Regions from separate parts of the Homo sapiens genome. Here all the other regions are linked to region 1. Evidence: promoter capture Hi-C in 16 types of primary human blood cells and fetal thymus (Javierre and others, 2016). All regions are on one chromosome and are shown on one strand. The core of a region is centred on a gene start or on the middle of the fragment in contact, and the rest is flanking DNA. Distances in the headings are between cores, read along the strand shown. Region 1 holds the start of ZFAT (zinc finger and AT-hook domain containing). Region 2 overlaps ST3GAL1 (ST3 beta-galactoside alpha-2,3-sialyltransferase 1). Region 3 overlaps ST3GAL1 (ST3 beta-galactoside alpha-2,3-sialyltransferase 1). Region 4 has its middle 7.7 kb from the start of ST3GAL1.

What was found. Contacts are between HindIII fragments. The CHiCAGO score rates a contact against its expected background, and 5 or more counts as called.
Region 2: a contact is called between a fragment that was not itself captured here and the fragment with the promoter of ZFAT in region 1, in 4 of 17 cell types (fetal thymus, total B cells, naive CD4 T cells and 1 more). The highest score is 6.8, in fetal thymus.
Region 3: a contact is called between a fragment that was not itself captured here and the fragment with the promoter of ZFAT in region 1, in 6 of 17 cell types (fetal thymus, naive CD4 T cells, M0 macrophages and 3 more). The highest score is 7.2, in fetal thymus.
Region 4: a fragment that was not itself captured here is called in contact with the fragment with the promoter of ZFAT in region 1 in 3 of 17 cell types (naive CD4 T cells, monocytes and megakaryocytes); the score reaches 8.1 in naive CD4 T cells.

The regions. Positions count from the first base shown.
Region 1 is chr8:134,711,083-134,714,546 of GRCh38, forward strand. ZFAT (zinc finger and AT-hook domain containing) reads right to left here and starts at 1,949. Exons shown (of 16, transcript NM_020863.4): 1 at 1,763-1,949. The coding sequence starts at 1,781. RefSeq lists an enhancer at 1,781-1,960. The HindIII fragment of the contact is 8,105 bases long and covers 1,232-3,464 here.
Region 2 is chr8:133,522,601-133,526,064 of GRCh38, forward strand. All of the region lies in intron 2 of ST3GAL1 (ST3 beta-galactoside alpha-2,3-sialyltransferase 1), which reads right to left. Among named protein-coding and RNA genes, the nearest start is that of ST3GAL1-DT, 46 kb to the right of the region's middle. RefSeq lists an enhancer at 1,057-1,226. The HindIII fragment of the contact is 666 bases long and covers 1,602-2,267 here.
Region 3 is chr8:133,557,000-133,560,463 of GRCh38, forward strand. The region is part of intron 1 of ST3GAL1 (ST3 beta-galactoside alpha-2,3-sialyltransferase 1); the gene reads right to left. Among named protein-coding and RNA genes, the nearest start is that of ST3GAL1-DT, 12 kb to the right of the region's middle. The HindIII fragment of the contact is 1,310 bases long and covers 1,104-2,413 here.
Region 4 is chr8:133,577,882-133,581,345 of GRCh38, forward strand. No RefSeq gene overlaps it. Among named protein-coding and RNA genes, the nearest start is that of ST3GAL1, 7.7 kb to the left of the region's middle. The HindIII fragment of the contact is 2,348 bases long and covers 377-2,724 here.

The DNA.
Region 1 (3,464 bases), core at 699-3,198:
TTCTGAGTGTTAACAGCATCGTCTTTACAGTTGTGCAACTGTTGTTTTGTTTTGTTTTTTGAGAAAAATAGAGATGGGGTTTCACTACACTGCCCAGGCTGGTCTTGAACTCCTGGACTCAAGGGACCCTCCCGCCTCAGACTCCCAGAGTGCTGGGATTACAGGCGTGAGCTACTGCGCCCGGCTATGGAACTGCATTTCTGCTGAGAACCTTCACGAGGTCAGATAGAAAATTTTCCACTGTGGCCTCATGTCAGTGCTCAAAGTTTCAGACTTTGGAGCATTTCCGATTTCGGATTTTTGGATTAGGGATGCTCAACCTGTATTTGGAGAGCAAGTCTCTCCGGTGCTCATTTTAGGCTAACCTAAGACAGCACACCTGAATCAGCTGGGCACCACAGCTAATCAGCGCACCTGTGGTCACAGCTACTTGGCAGGCTGAGGCGGGAGGTTTACCTGAGGGCGGGAGGCAGAGGTTGCAGTGACCCGAGATTGCACCATTGCACCCCGGCCTGAGTGATAGTGCGGGACTCTGTCCCAAAAAATTAAAAAAATTAAATTAAAAAAAAGCACGCCTGATATAGTTCGGGTCTCCTGACCCAATATTCGGCTCTGGGCCCACTCTGTCACTCCAGGACACATTCTCCCACATCTAGCACCGCAGCAGGTGGAGGCAGGACTACGACTGGGACTGCTCTTTACCCCTGCCTGGCGTGCAGAGGGGATCCTTGCAAAGCTGTTATTTGAACTAAAGTCAGGAAAGGTGTCCCTGGGGGTTAGAGGTAGGACACGCTACTTCCTTCAGCATGGGGACACACACTACAGATGTTTCAGTAGATGAACTGGTAGGCTCGGAAGATAAAGCTGGTGAGAGGCAGCTGTGCGGGGCATCTCCAAAAGGTCACTTGGACTCCAGCAAAAAAAGCCAGACTGATGGGCAGGCGTGATCAGTTAGCGCGTTCGTTCTTTCATTCACTAAGTATATAGTGAACACTTACATGAGCCAAGCCCTATTCTAAGAAGATGGAGGTACAAGTCAGGCGAGCACGCAGGAGTTTGGATTTTAGCCCAAGTTGGAGGAAGTTAATTTTTAAAGCCCCAGCTCTGTCGTTTTTAAACTGTGTAAAGTTGACCTCTCTGAACTTCTGTTCCTCATAATAAATGACCTACAAATTAGAGTTCTCAAGAGAGCTGAGCAGCAAAACGTGTTAAGTCAGTGCCCAAATGTGGAAGCTTGTGGTAATTACAGGTGAAGGACCCCAAGCTCAAGGTTAAATGACTTGCACCGGGTGTCAAGTGGAAGATCTGTCACTCTATTAGGTCCAGCCGGCGGCCGGGAAGCCTGCAGGAGGTACTCATTTCGCCAAGGAGGAATCCGAGGCCAGGCAAGAAGGAAGCCCCGCCAAGGTCCAGTCAAAGAGCTGGCATCGCCGGGATTCGAACCTCGCGCCCACTGCGTTCCGTCGCTGGCCCGCGCCCCAACGCCACCCATTGCCGTGGAAACGGCCGGGCGCATGCTCTCCCACTCGCTCCCGCCTTGCTTTTTTTTTTTTTTTGCGGCGGGATACCCCAGCGACTGAACGTGAGCCGCAGAACGCAACTACGTTCGCTCTCCTCCCCAGACCCGGATCCCTCCGCGGCCGGCGGCCGGCGGCCGGCGGCCGGCGCACTGCTTCCCGACTCGACGCTCGAAACGGCTTTCCGCGCGCCGCGCCGCGCCCCACCCCCACCCCGTCTCACCCCAACCCCCAGCCCGGCTCACCTGCCGCCCGCGTCTCCATGGCAACGCCCCACCGCGGAGGAAAAAAAAGCCTCGGGCTCTTCCGGGCCCCCTCCCGTGCCGACCGAGGGGGCGGGGCGCCCTGCTGACGCTTCGCTTTTTATTTTTATTTTTTTAAGAAAAGAGCCGGCGAGGTTATGGCGAATCTGCGGCATCCAACATGGCGGATGGAGTCTTCGCCCTCCTCCCCACGGGGCGCAGACGCCTGCGTAGCGGACGTCCGCTTCGGGTGACCCTCCCCCGGCGCCGAGCGCGGCCCGGCAGGGCCGAGCTAACGCGCATGCTCGCAGTCGGAGGCCGTGCTTTTTATCCCACTTCACGGATTCCGCTGCGCCGCGTTTTGAGCCACGCCCAGGGAGGGGCCCTCGGGAGGTCCGGAGCGCGGATCTCGGGGTCAGGAGTCTGGCGGTTGTGCCAGGCCTCTGCTAGCGCGACCCTAGACCCGCGGCATGTGGGGCCGCCGAGCTGGGCGTGCAAGGAGAGTTCTGGGTGCGCTTCGTGTCCCAGCTCTACCTCTCACTACCTAACTTGGGGCAGCGAATTAACTTTTCTTGCTCTCAGTTTACTGATGTGTCCATCGGGGTGCTCCCAACCTGCATCCCGCTCAAAGCTGCGGCGTTTCCCGAAGCGTGGGGTGCTTTCCTTTGGGCCACCCGGCTGGGTTTTAGGGGCTACAGAGCACTGAGCGGCCTACGATCACACGTGACAAGGCGACTTCCTCCTCTCTCGTCTCTTTTTGTCCCACAACAAGTCTGCACTGGATGTGCGCGCCTCCAACACCCGCTCATTCATTTCTCTGCTTGTGGCACAGCCTTCGGCAGGCAGCTGAGTCTGGTGGAAATTTAATGACTTTGTTTTTGGTTTTGATGTTAAGGTGTTTAGCTCCAACACTGTAGTCCTCGGCTCAAATGATATCTTCCAGCCCCTAACCCTCACCCCCCGAAACCCATCTAAAGTAACCCTCCAAGACACTTCATATTTTCTACGTAGCATCCATTCCTATCTGTCATTATCTCCCTCCCTTACCTCTGTCAATGGTCACCCCGTTAGCCTCAGAAACAAACTGAGCCTGACAGTTATTTATTTCATGAGTAATGAGTTGATGTGGTCCATGTTCTAAGGTCATTTTCTGTTCATGACAAATAACGTTTTTCACTTACAGTAGTCATATAAAGTTTTTAAATTGTTCGTTTACATTTTCAAAAATCAGTCAACTTAAAATGGTGTACATGCTGCAAAGACATGCCCCCCCCCCCCCAAAAAAAAAAAGTGTAAAAGCAGACTTCAGGAGACTGAAGTTTGGGAAACTGATTTGTGTTCATGGTTCCCCTGAAATGCTAGTCTTTGCCTGTTCTTCTTTTCCTGGAATAACCCTCTTTGGTTGCTGCTCAACATGAAATTCTCGGACAGCCCTGAAGTTCACACTTCATGTTCCCACAGCTCTGGTCTCACTGGCCTAGCTCCATCCCCCACTTCTCTGTTTGCACAGCGTTCATCCTCACTAGACTGAGCTTCCTGAGCAGCCCTTATAGGTCCTTTTCATCTTGTTTTCTCAGCGCCTGTTGCATAGTCATATTACTGAATGAACACTTCGTTCTGGGGTCACTTATTTTTTAGGAGGAAAACTCCCTTGGGCATTGAGCTTCAGGATGACTCATCTGATTTCTCAGGAGACTGCCCGCCT
Region 2 (3,464 bases), core at 685-3,184, 1.2 Mb before region 1:
AGGCGCTGGCACAGAAAAGCCTACGTTCATATCCAGCAGAGTCACCTGGTGGCCGCAGGGTCTTGCTAGTTAACCCCTGAGAGCCTGGGTTTCATCCAAAAACTGAAGACAAACATAACACTGGCCTAAGGGGCACAGTGTTAAGCACGTGACACTCCACAAGCACACACTAAATGGACACACTAATTACTGTCGTTATTTTGCCACCACTATCCTCCCTGGAGTACAATCCTTCTCTGGCCTCCTGGTGTGCTCCCAACACCCTCACCAGGCGAGGGAAGGGGCTCATCTCACTGTCTCTGTCCCTAGAGCCTAGGGCAGAGAAGGTGCTAAGAAAATGAGCACTGTGGGGAAGAGACAGGGATGAAATCTCTCAAGAAGAGACAGCCTTGCTGGGGGAGACATTCAGCACGGTGTTTCTAAACTTCATGGAGTTTCTGGACAACTGTGCTCAATTCACTTCTAATTTCAAACAGATGGGGCTGCGCTCTGTCACTCCCACCTGGCCCAGGGCCCTGGCGAGCAGCAAGGGGCCTCTCCCTTCTGCCCTGCTGAGAGGGGAGTTGCGTGGCTTCTGGGAGCAGGGGAAGTGGGTCCTAACTCTTCTGTGGGGGGTTGCTAATCTCCCAAACACCACAGAGAACATGGGAGACTGGAGGGTCCAGGTCTCAATTCACAGACACTGCCACACCCCCATGCACACCTCTGTCCTAGCACAAGTCACAAAGGTGTGCAGCTGTTGCTTTCTCCACCCTTAGAAGCAGTACAGAGATTCCACAGCCAAACCACCTGAGCCTCAATCTGGCTCTGCCCACTTTGCTGGGCACCCTCAGGCAAGTAACTCAACCTCCCTGTGCCTTCATTTCCTCCTCTGTAAAGTGAAGATGGTGATGCTTAAAGTGGCAGCTACTTCAAAGGGGCACTGGAAGGATGCATCAGGAGTTCCTGCAGAGCATTTAGAAGGGTCTTATTGCAGATGGAATGGCCACTTGTCCTGCTCTGTGACAAAGCAAAGTCGACTCTCATGGGACTCTCAGGACCTCCCTGGAGGCCTGCAAGAGGTCAGCACCATTCCTAGGTACCAGATTTATGACCAATTGACAAATGTCTGTTGAGCTTCTTGCTGGAGAACAAGTACAAACGGACTGGCAGAAGGCTGGGTATGGGAGCCACAAGGGTCTCTATCCCTCGTCCTCGTCTCTCGAAGTGGGAGTGTATTTTTTCACCCACTGGATGTTGTGACACGCTTTAGCCAATGGAATGTGGGAAGAAGTGTCAAGATGCCAGTTCAGAACCATAATCATAAGAGCTTTGTGTCCTTCGGGGAGCTTCTGACCTCCATTATGAGAAAAACATGCTTCAGGCAGCCTGTGACCCTCCAGTCAGGGCCAACTCAACTCAAAGACTAAGCCAGAACCACCACATGTGACCCACAGACCTATGAAATCTGAATGAATGCTCTTATGCCATTTCATGGTTTTGTTACACAGCAAAAACTGACTGATACACTCTCTCTGCTCAATTGCTCCTATACCTTGACTCTCGCTGGCCCTCTCAGCTCAAGCAAAGCCTGGAACAATAATTAAAAAACCTACCTCTTAAGCTTTTAATGAAGACTGAATGAGCTATTATTACCCCAATTTTTCAGATGAAAATGTGAAACACAAAGGAGTTAAGAACTTGTGCAAGGTCTCCCAGCTAGAAAGTGGTAGAGCCAGGACACAAACCCAGGCATTGTCCCCTAGAGACAGAGCTCTCAACAACCAGGCAACACTACAGCCCCAGGTGAGACCAGCATTTTGCAGGTGAGCAGATCCTGATGTCACAGGATCCTTGGGTGTCACTTTGCCAGCCAGACACCTCTGTGGCCAGCAGCGCCTTCTACCTGAGTATTGCTCATGCCTGCTGGGCTCATGTCACCCACTTGGCCCAACAGGTTGTGCTCAGCTTATGCTACCAGCCTAGATCACACACCTGCTAAGGGCAAGCCAGGCGTGAAGCAGCAAGGGGTGTGTGGGTGAGCTAGCACAGGGTCCAGCCACTGTGCACAGCCAGGTACGCTGGTTGCTGCGACAGGATGGACAGCTCCGGGCACTGGCACAGGTGCCAGCTCCATGTGAGTCTGTGGCTGGACCAGATGTACCACACATGGCTTCTGCTGCAGGCACCCATTTCTGGACCCATGTCTGGATGAAGAAGCAAGACAGCTGCCACATTCCTAAGTAACACATCTAGAAATGTTCTAGGAGAACACGGTGGCACCCGGAAGCTTGGAGACACCAGGAACTGTGCAGTCCCAAAGAAGGTGTCACAGCCCTGGCTTGGGGAGCCCCTAGATCTGGGCTTCCCAACGGGCCACAGCTCTTCTCTCCTTCTTGTCACCTGCAACGTGGTGAATGGAGGGAGGAGGGTGTGTTTCAGCCCTGTTTGTGTTACAGCTCTTTCAGTCCCACCATTCAGCGGGTCCTGAGTTCTTGTACCATGTCCAGGAAGAATGAGGTATGCAGACAACTGGAGGGTGAGCAAGGCAGAGAGGAGCCTCACTGAGTGACAGAACAGCTTTCAGGAGACCTGCAGTGGGTAGCTCGTTTCCACAGGCAGGTCGTCCCAGTGAATGTCAAGCTTTCAGCAGAGAAGACACATAGTGGGTAGCTCCTTTCTGCAGTTAGGTCATCCCAAAGAGTCAAGGAGACCCAGAGTGGGTAGCTCCTTCCTGCAGCTGGTAGTCCTGACACCTACATGTCTGGCTGAGTCCAGGGTTTTTATGGGCTCAGAAGGGAGGAAGTGTGTGCTGATTGGTCCATGGATGGCCATGGATGGGCTTGGATAAAGCACCATAAGTTCTTCCTCTAGGCCATGGACTCCCCCTGGAACTGGCAGCCTGGCCCCCAGGCTTCAGGCTGTCCCTGGGTTGAAGGTGGTGTTTCACCTGGGACCTGCCCCTTTCTGCCCAGGAGCCTGTCTGCCTCCTGCTACCATCAACATGGCATCCACAGCACCCAGGCTGTGCATGCTGAGGGACGCCTGCAGGCCTGCACTGAGCTGCCCTCAGTCTCCTCTTGGCTTCCCTCCTGTGCCTGTCGGTGACCAAAGTCTGGAGGGGGCCAAGATGACAGGGGTCTGGCATGTCAACACCACCCAGAGTACATACACACCCAGCTGGGTTGCGACAGCACCCAGGCTCAGTTTCAACTTTGCTCCAAAAATCAGAGTGGACACTGGGAGTGGTGAGATGCCAGGGAGCGGGAGCAGGCAATTACAAGCCTGCATGACAGGGGGGCTTCCTGGGTCCCCAAGAGCAGAGGGATGCCTGGGTCCAGAGCTGTGGCTAGGTAGCTGCAGCTGTGCCTGGGAGCTCAGGGCTCCTGCCCTGCCAACTTGATAGAAGGCAGGGTTCCCACCTGTTCCTGGTCCCTGCCAGCTCTGTGGAGCATGCAGCCCCAGCTATGCCTCCCCTGCTGCAG
Region 3 (3,464 bases), core at 509-3,008, 1.2 Mb before region 1:
TGACAACCCCCCAACCTGACCCTCCCAACCTGGGAGACCTTCAGGCAATGGCCAACCTCAGCGAGCCAGCCTTCTCAGCTGTAAAACACTGATAGCACTAGCAAGCTCAAAGCCTGATTAGACAGTGAATGGGCCTAGAATGACCAGTATGTGGTATTTCCTGGGCAGAACCTCAGGAAGAAAAAGAGGGGAGGCAGATGCCAGAATTCACAAAAGACAATACAAGCTTGCTCACCGGGAGGTCTAAAGGAAGTGAGGAGACTGTGCAGTGTAAACACAGTGGAAGTCATCCAGTCAACCAACGCGTGGCACAATGGGGTCCTCATAGGATATGTGGTACCCATGGTCCAGGCTGCTCTTCCTGCCTGCTCTAGTGCAGGAGGGCACAGAAGGCATGTTCTCTAGGGCACCCTGAGCAGCCCAAGATGAGAGGATAACTGAGTGGTAATGCAGGCCTTGGCAGTATCACCCCACGGGCTGGCCTCCTATCCAGGTTCTGCCTGATGATGGGTTGAGCTGTCGCACCAGCCAGGCCCTGTCTGTGCTGTCCTCTCGGCTGTAAAATAAAGAGGCCGTGGTCTGACTCACACCTGTAATCCCAGCACTTTGGGAGGCCAAGGCAGGCAGATCATGAGGTCAAGAGTTTGAGACTAGCCTGACCAACATGGTGAAACCCTGTCTCTACTAAAAATACAAAAATTAGCCAGGCGTGGTGGCGCGTGCCTGTAATCCCAGCTACTTAGGAGGCTGAGGCGGAAGAATTGCTTGAATCCAGAAGGTGGAGGTTGCAGTGAGCTCAGGAGGCTGAGGCAGGAGAATTGCTTGAATCTGGGAGGCGGAGGTTGCAGTGAGCTGAGATCATGCCACTGCACTCCAGCCTGGGCAACAGAGTGAGACTCCGTCTCAAAAAAAAAAAAAAAAAAAAGAGGCCAGTGTCTTGAGGTCCCCCTCATGGCTAAAATCTTAGGTATGTCTCTTGTGCCTCTGATGTCCAGTGATGATACCCTAGCTTCACAGCCCAGACAACTTTCCCATCCTTAAATTCAGATAGCTCCTAAGAGCACCATTCTGCCATCTGCTCCAGGAAGCGCTCTCTGGTTGGAAGCTTTGAATGAGAAAGAGCCTTCTAAACCGCAAAGCTGCCCAGAGGTCAAAACACCACTGTGTGGGGCACAGAGCTCCCTACCACAGGTAGTGAAAAATGCAGCTCAAGGAGGCGGAACAAGAATGTAATTGATGATGATGTGTTGCCACAGCATATCTTTAACAAGGACTCTTCTGAGCACGGTCCAAGTGTTAACTCATTGAATGCTTATTTATTACCTCCTGGGAGGTAGGTACCATTGTTATCCAGATTTTATGGATGAGGAAAGGGAAGTACAGAGAGGTTCAGCAACTTGCTGAAGGACACGCAGTTAGGCAGTGGCAGAGCTAATACTTTTATGAGTAAATCAAGGAATCAATGAAAGACTCAGTAGATAGAAGAAGGTTGAACAAGGTTACTGCAAAGGCTCTTTGCAAATGCTAAGATTTTATAATTCTTTGACACTATTTAAGTGTGCAACCTCTGTAACTAATTATTCAACCAACATACCATGCCCCCGTCCTCCCGCAAGTAATGGTGACTAAAGTTTATGACACCATGGCTCAGAGAAAAAGAGAAAACCTCCTTTACTCCATCCGGGGCAGGTTCCTGACAATGCAGAAGTATTCTGATATTCAAAACTGTCTCCACAGCCAGTATATTTTTTTCTCCTTGTTTGGATTTCTGACATTGCATAAATGTCAGTTTAATGTATAAAATCCTATGCCGCAGGTCTTCCAATAATGCTGTTTCATTCAACAGCATTTCATTATAACATTGATGAGAAGAATACGGATTCCCGGCCGGGACCACTGTGTGTGTGGAGTTTGCAAGTTTTCCTCATGTCCTCGTGGGTCTTCTCCAGGCACTCCAGTTTCCCACACCCCAAAAAGCTGTGCATATCAGGTGAACTGCTGTGTTTATGTGGTCCCAGGGCGATAGAGTGTGGTTTTGTGTGTGTGTGTGTGTGTGTGTGTGCATGTGTGCACGTCCTAAGCCACTGGGACAGGCTGTGGCCACCTGCGATGCTGTTTGGGGCCTTCATTTAGAAGTTTGGTGATATTTTTATGAACAGAAATACATCAGAGATACTTAACTCTTGTTTATATCAGTTACCCTATGGTGAAATCAGTTTTTTATGTCGTTTCCCTTAAACTCACAATTTCCAAGGACCTATCGATGTCATTAAATGAGGACTTACTGTGGTCCAAGGATCATGTTTGCTGAGCTCAGTTTGTTCCAGGTCGCAGGGAGAAACAGAAAATAGCAGCAGACCTTAGGTTGGAACCAGTTCTTCAACCCATTCTGAAAGGTGTGTTTTCCATTTGAAGCTTCTATCAGGTGGTGAAAGAAAGAACGATGGTACTGTCTGCCTAATCTCTCCCTTTCATTTTAATTTCCTTTTTTTGCCAAAAGACTGAATTTTAAAACATAAGATTATGTTTTAGAAACAACCAGTAATACACCTCACAAAGACATTCCTATTCGTGGCAGCTAACATGTTTCCTGAGCAACGGTCTTTATTCATCAAACTCTCCACCAGGTGGTAGGATTAACAGTGTTTTCAAGTAAGAAGAAGAACAACAAACCTTTCTCTCCATTGTGAAGATGTTATTAAAAGGGAATTTTCCAAGGTTGCAACAGCGACGCTGACGATTCCTTTTACGTGAAGCAGGTTGCCTCCAAGAGGCTCCCATCTAGCTAGGGAGCTGGCTAAGTTTACACGCCTGATTGCAAACTTTGCACTCAGCCTTCCTGCTCAGTCCTTTCTCCAAACCCCCCGGCAGGCTCAAAGTGGCTCACCGCCTCCCTCAATCCCCAGGCACCTTGGGGCTCTTCGAATTCAATTTATAACAACAAGCCACAAAGATGAGTTCTTGCAAGCAGCCATGCAGGGACGGATGTGGAGCAGTTAAAGGAAACAAAATTACAGATAGGAGGAATAGGTTCTAGTGTTCTGTGGCACTGCAGGGTGGCTATAGTAAACAAGGATTTATAATATATTTTCATATTTTCAAATAGCTAGAAGAGAGGATTTTGAATGTTCCCAACACAAATGATGAATGTTTGAGGTGACAGATATGCAAATTACCCTGATTTGATCACTCTACATTGCATGTATGAAAACTCACTACGTACCCCATAAATATGTACAATTACTATGTGTCAGTTTTACTAAAAAAAAAAACACACTGAAATACCATCACTTCCATCAGCATGACAACTTATAACAGAAAAAGTATTTGCATTTCGTGTGTATTATCTATTGCTGTGTAATAAATTATGATGAATTTAGCAGCTTAGAAGAAAATAAAGCCAGAATGTAACAGGCTAAATAAACCCACGGACTCACCCAGTGATGGTGAATCGGGGAGAAGAC
Region 4 (3,464 bases), core at 301-2,800, 1.1 Mb before region 1:
CTGAGAAGACTCTGATGAAATTCTGAACAGCATCAAGAACCTTGTTTAGGCTTGGATTATGTCGCTAAGGACTGTAGGAATGGCACCTGGAAGAAGACACGCAAGAGGTTTGTCAATAACTTCAAAGGATTTGCCAAGGATGAGGAAGTTGCAAAAATCAAGAAGGCTGTGGTTGAGATGGCAAACTACTTTAACCTGGGTGTGGATGTGGATGACATTGAGTAATTCCTAGAGGGGGTTCCTGAGGAATTGACTAATGGGTTGCTGTTGGAACTGGAATAGGAGTGCATAGCTGAAGAAGAGGTAAAGAAAAAGAAAGTGCAGGAGAAGGGAAAAAAGAACTCCCAAGAATACTCACAGTGATGGGTTTAGCAGAAGCTTCTTCAGTCTCCAACAAGCTCCTTAAGAAGTCTGAAAACATGGACCCCAAAACTGAAAGGTTTTCACTAATAGAGAGGAAAGTTCATGGTGCATTATCTGCCTACAAGCAAAACCAGGATTCAAAAAACCCTTTGAGCTGGAGCTTCAAAGCACAAAAAAAAAAAAAAAAAAAAAAAAAAGAAAAAGAAAAAAGAAACAAATGAAGCAAACCACCATGGACATAGTTATGAGTCTATTAGTGATGGGGATACGTTCTGAGGAATGTGTTGTTAGGCAATTTCATCCCTGTGCCAGCATCATAGTGTACTTATGCGAATATAGATGGTAAAACCTACTGCACACCTGGGCTATATGGTTTAGCCTATTCCTCTTAGGCTGCAAACCTGTACAGCATGTTATTGTACTGAATACTGTAGGCAATCGTCACTCCATGGTAGGTATGTATGTATGTATCTAAACATATCTAGACATAGAAAAGGTACTATAGAAAAACAGTATAAAAGATAAAAACGGTATGCCTGTATAGGCCACTTACCATAAGTGGAGCATGCGTTACTGGAAGTTGCTCTAGGTTGAGTCAGTGAGTGAGTGGTGAGTGAATGTGAAAGCCTAGGACATTACCGTATACTATTGTAGACTTTATGAACACTACACTTGGGCTACACTGAATTTATAAAAATGTGTTTTTCTTCAATAATAAATTAACCCTAGCTTGTTGTTACTTTTCTTACTTTATACACTTTTTAAACTTTTTTGACTTTTTTGTAATAAAACTTAGCTTAAAATACAAACACATTGAACAGCTGCACTAAAAATATTTTCATTTTCTTTTCTTTTTTTTTTTTTTTTGGTATTGGAGTTTCACTCTTTTGCCCAGGCTGGATGGCAGTGGCATCATCTTGGCTCACTGCAACCTCCGCTCCCCGGGTTCAAGCGATTCTCCTGCCTCAGCCTCCCGAGTAGCTGGCATTATAGGTGCACACCACCAGGCCAGGCTAATTTTTGTATTTTTAGTAAAGTCGAGGTTTCGCCATGTTGGCCAGGCTGGCCTTGAACTCTTGACCTCAGGTGATCCACCCACCTCAGCCTCCCAAAGTGCTAGGATTACAGGCATGAACCACTGCACCCAGCCTAAAAATATTTTCTTTATATCCCTATTTCACAAGTTTTTTCTATTTACAAATTATTTATTCATTTACTTTTCCAACTTTTTTGGTAAAATTAAGACACAAACACTCACATCAGCTTGGGCCCACACAGCGTCAGTCATCAATATCACTGTCTTTCACTGCATATCTTGAAACACAGGAAGGTCTTTAAGGGCAATAACCTGCATGGAGTTGCCATCCCCTAAGGTAACAGTGCCTTTCCCTGGAACACATCCTGAAGGTCCTGCCTGAGGCTGTATTACAGTGAACTCTGTGAGGTTTGCATAGCCATTAAATTGCCTAATGACGCTTTTCTTGGAATGTGTCTCTGTCATTAAGCCACTCCTGATGGTCTTAGACCCGAAATCTATGCTAAGCCATCTGGTTAGTCTCAGTCCATCCTGCCCACCCTAATCTCTTTGTCAAAAATCAGCTCATGAATGAATAGCTTTAATCCCTACTTGGACCACCAAGATAAAGAGATAAATATATTGAGTCTTCTAGGAAAAAAGTTTCTAAGAGTAAGCCCTGAATATAGCTTATTTCTAACTGGACATGAACAAAAGAGCATTTTTAACACAGTTGCTCTGGGAGGCATCTTTGTGCCCATGAAGAAAGCCAAATAAAGACATTAGGTTCAGAGTCGTAATCACACTAATGCATGAAGTCTGTTCTGGACTTTCTGTTTCATGAGTCAATAAAATTCTTTTGCTTACTCCACTTTAGGTCATAGTTCTGTTACTTGCAACAAAACCCTTGATAACGACAGTTAGATTGATTGTCCCGAAGCCCCTCTCCTTCCCTCAAGTCATTTCCAAGCTCTAACCCTTTAAAACATTTGTGGCTTCCCATTGCCTAGGGGTGTAAGTCCAGATTTCTGAGTCTAGCAGTTAAGACCCTCGGTGTGGTCCCAACGTGTGTTTCTCACTTGTTTCCTTCTAATACTCCTCTTTACAAACCCTCTACTAGCAGGCATAGCTTGGCCCAGAAGCTCTGGTTAACTTATATGTTATGTTCTTAAAATCAACATAGATCTCTATCTTGCTGGGCTGGTGAAGCCCCCAAGATATACAGAAGTCCAGAGGGCTAATGCAGGGCCTGGTGTGAGGAAACTCTGACTCCTGGCAATCCTCACTGCTTCTGCAGAGCCTCCCACTGTCCTGGGCTGCGAGATCCATAAGGATCATGGTTCCTAAGCTTCCTTGCCATAAGGTCCAGCTGGCCCAGATATATGCATTTCCTAGGATAGCCATAACCAACTACTACAAACTGTGTGGCCAGAAACAGCAGAAATTTATTTTCTCACAGTTCAGGAGGCTGCAATGAAGGTGTTGCAAAAGTTAGTTCCTGCTGGAGACTCAGAGAGAAACTGTCCCGTGCCTTTCTATATGACCTCATCTCAACTTGTTTAACCAATTACATTTGCAAATACCCTATTTCCAAATAAGGTCAAATTCTGAGGATCCTGGTAAGCATGAACATTTCAGGAACATTATTCAACCCACTAAACCAGGGACACCAACATCTCCATGCCCACCTCTGGAGCAGATGGCTTCCATTCTCTGTAGCTCCAGCTGACGGGCAGCCCTGGAAACCCTTTTCATCCTTTTCTTTATGGTGTTCTCAGAAGCAGACTCCTGTCCCCTTTTTTCATGTAAATGGATTTAAGTTTGATTTCCAAAAAGCTAGACCTTCAGCAACTTCTAATTTTCCCTAAGGTAGCTAGTCCTTGAGGCAAGGAAACATTAAGGGCCTGACTTCAGGCTTGAAATGGGGGAAATGGGAATCTATAAGGGATGAAAACCACAAATGAATATTTGAAGTGTCCTGCCATACCTATTGCACCTGCATTCCACACACATCAGTTAATGGAATACCCATCGTTCCTTCTAGAAGAGCCACCACCTGGCTTTGCGTATGAACCATGAGTTCCCT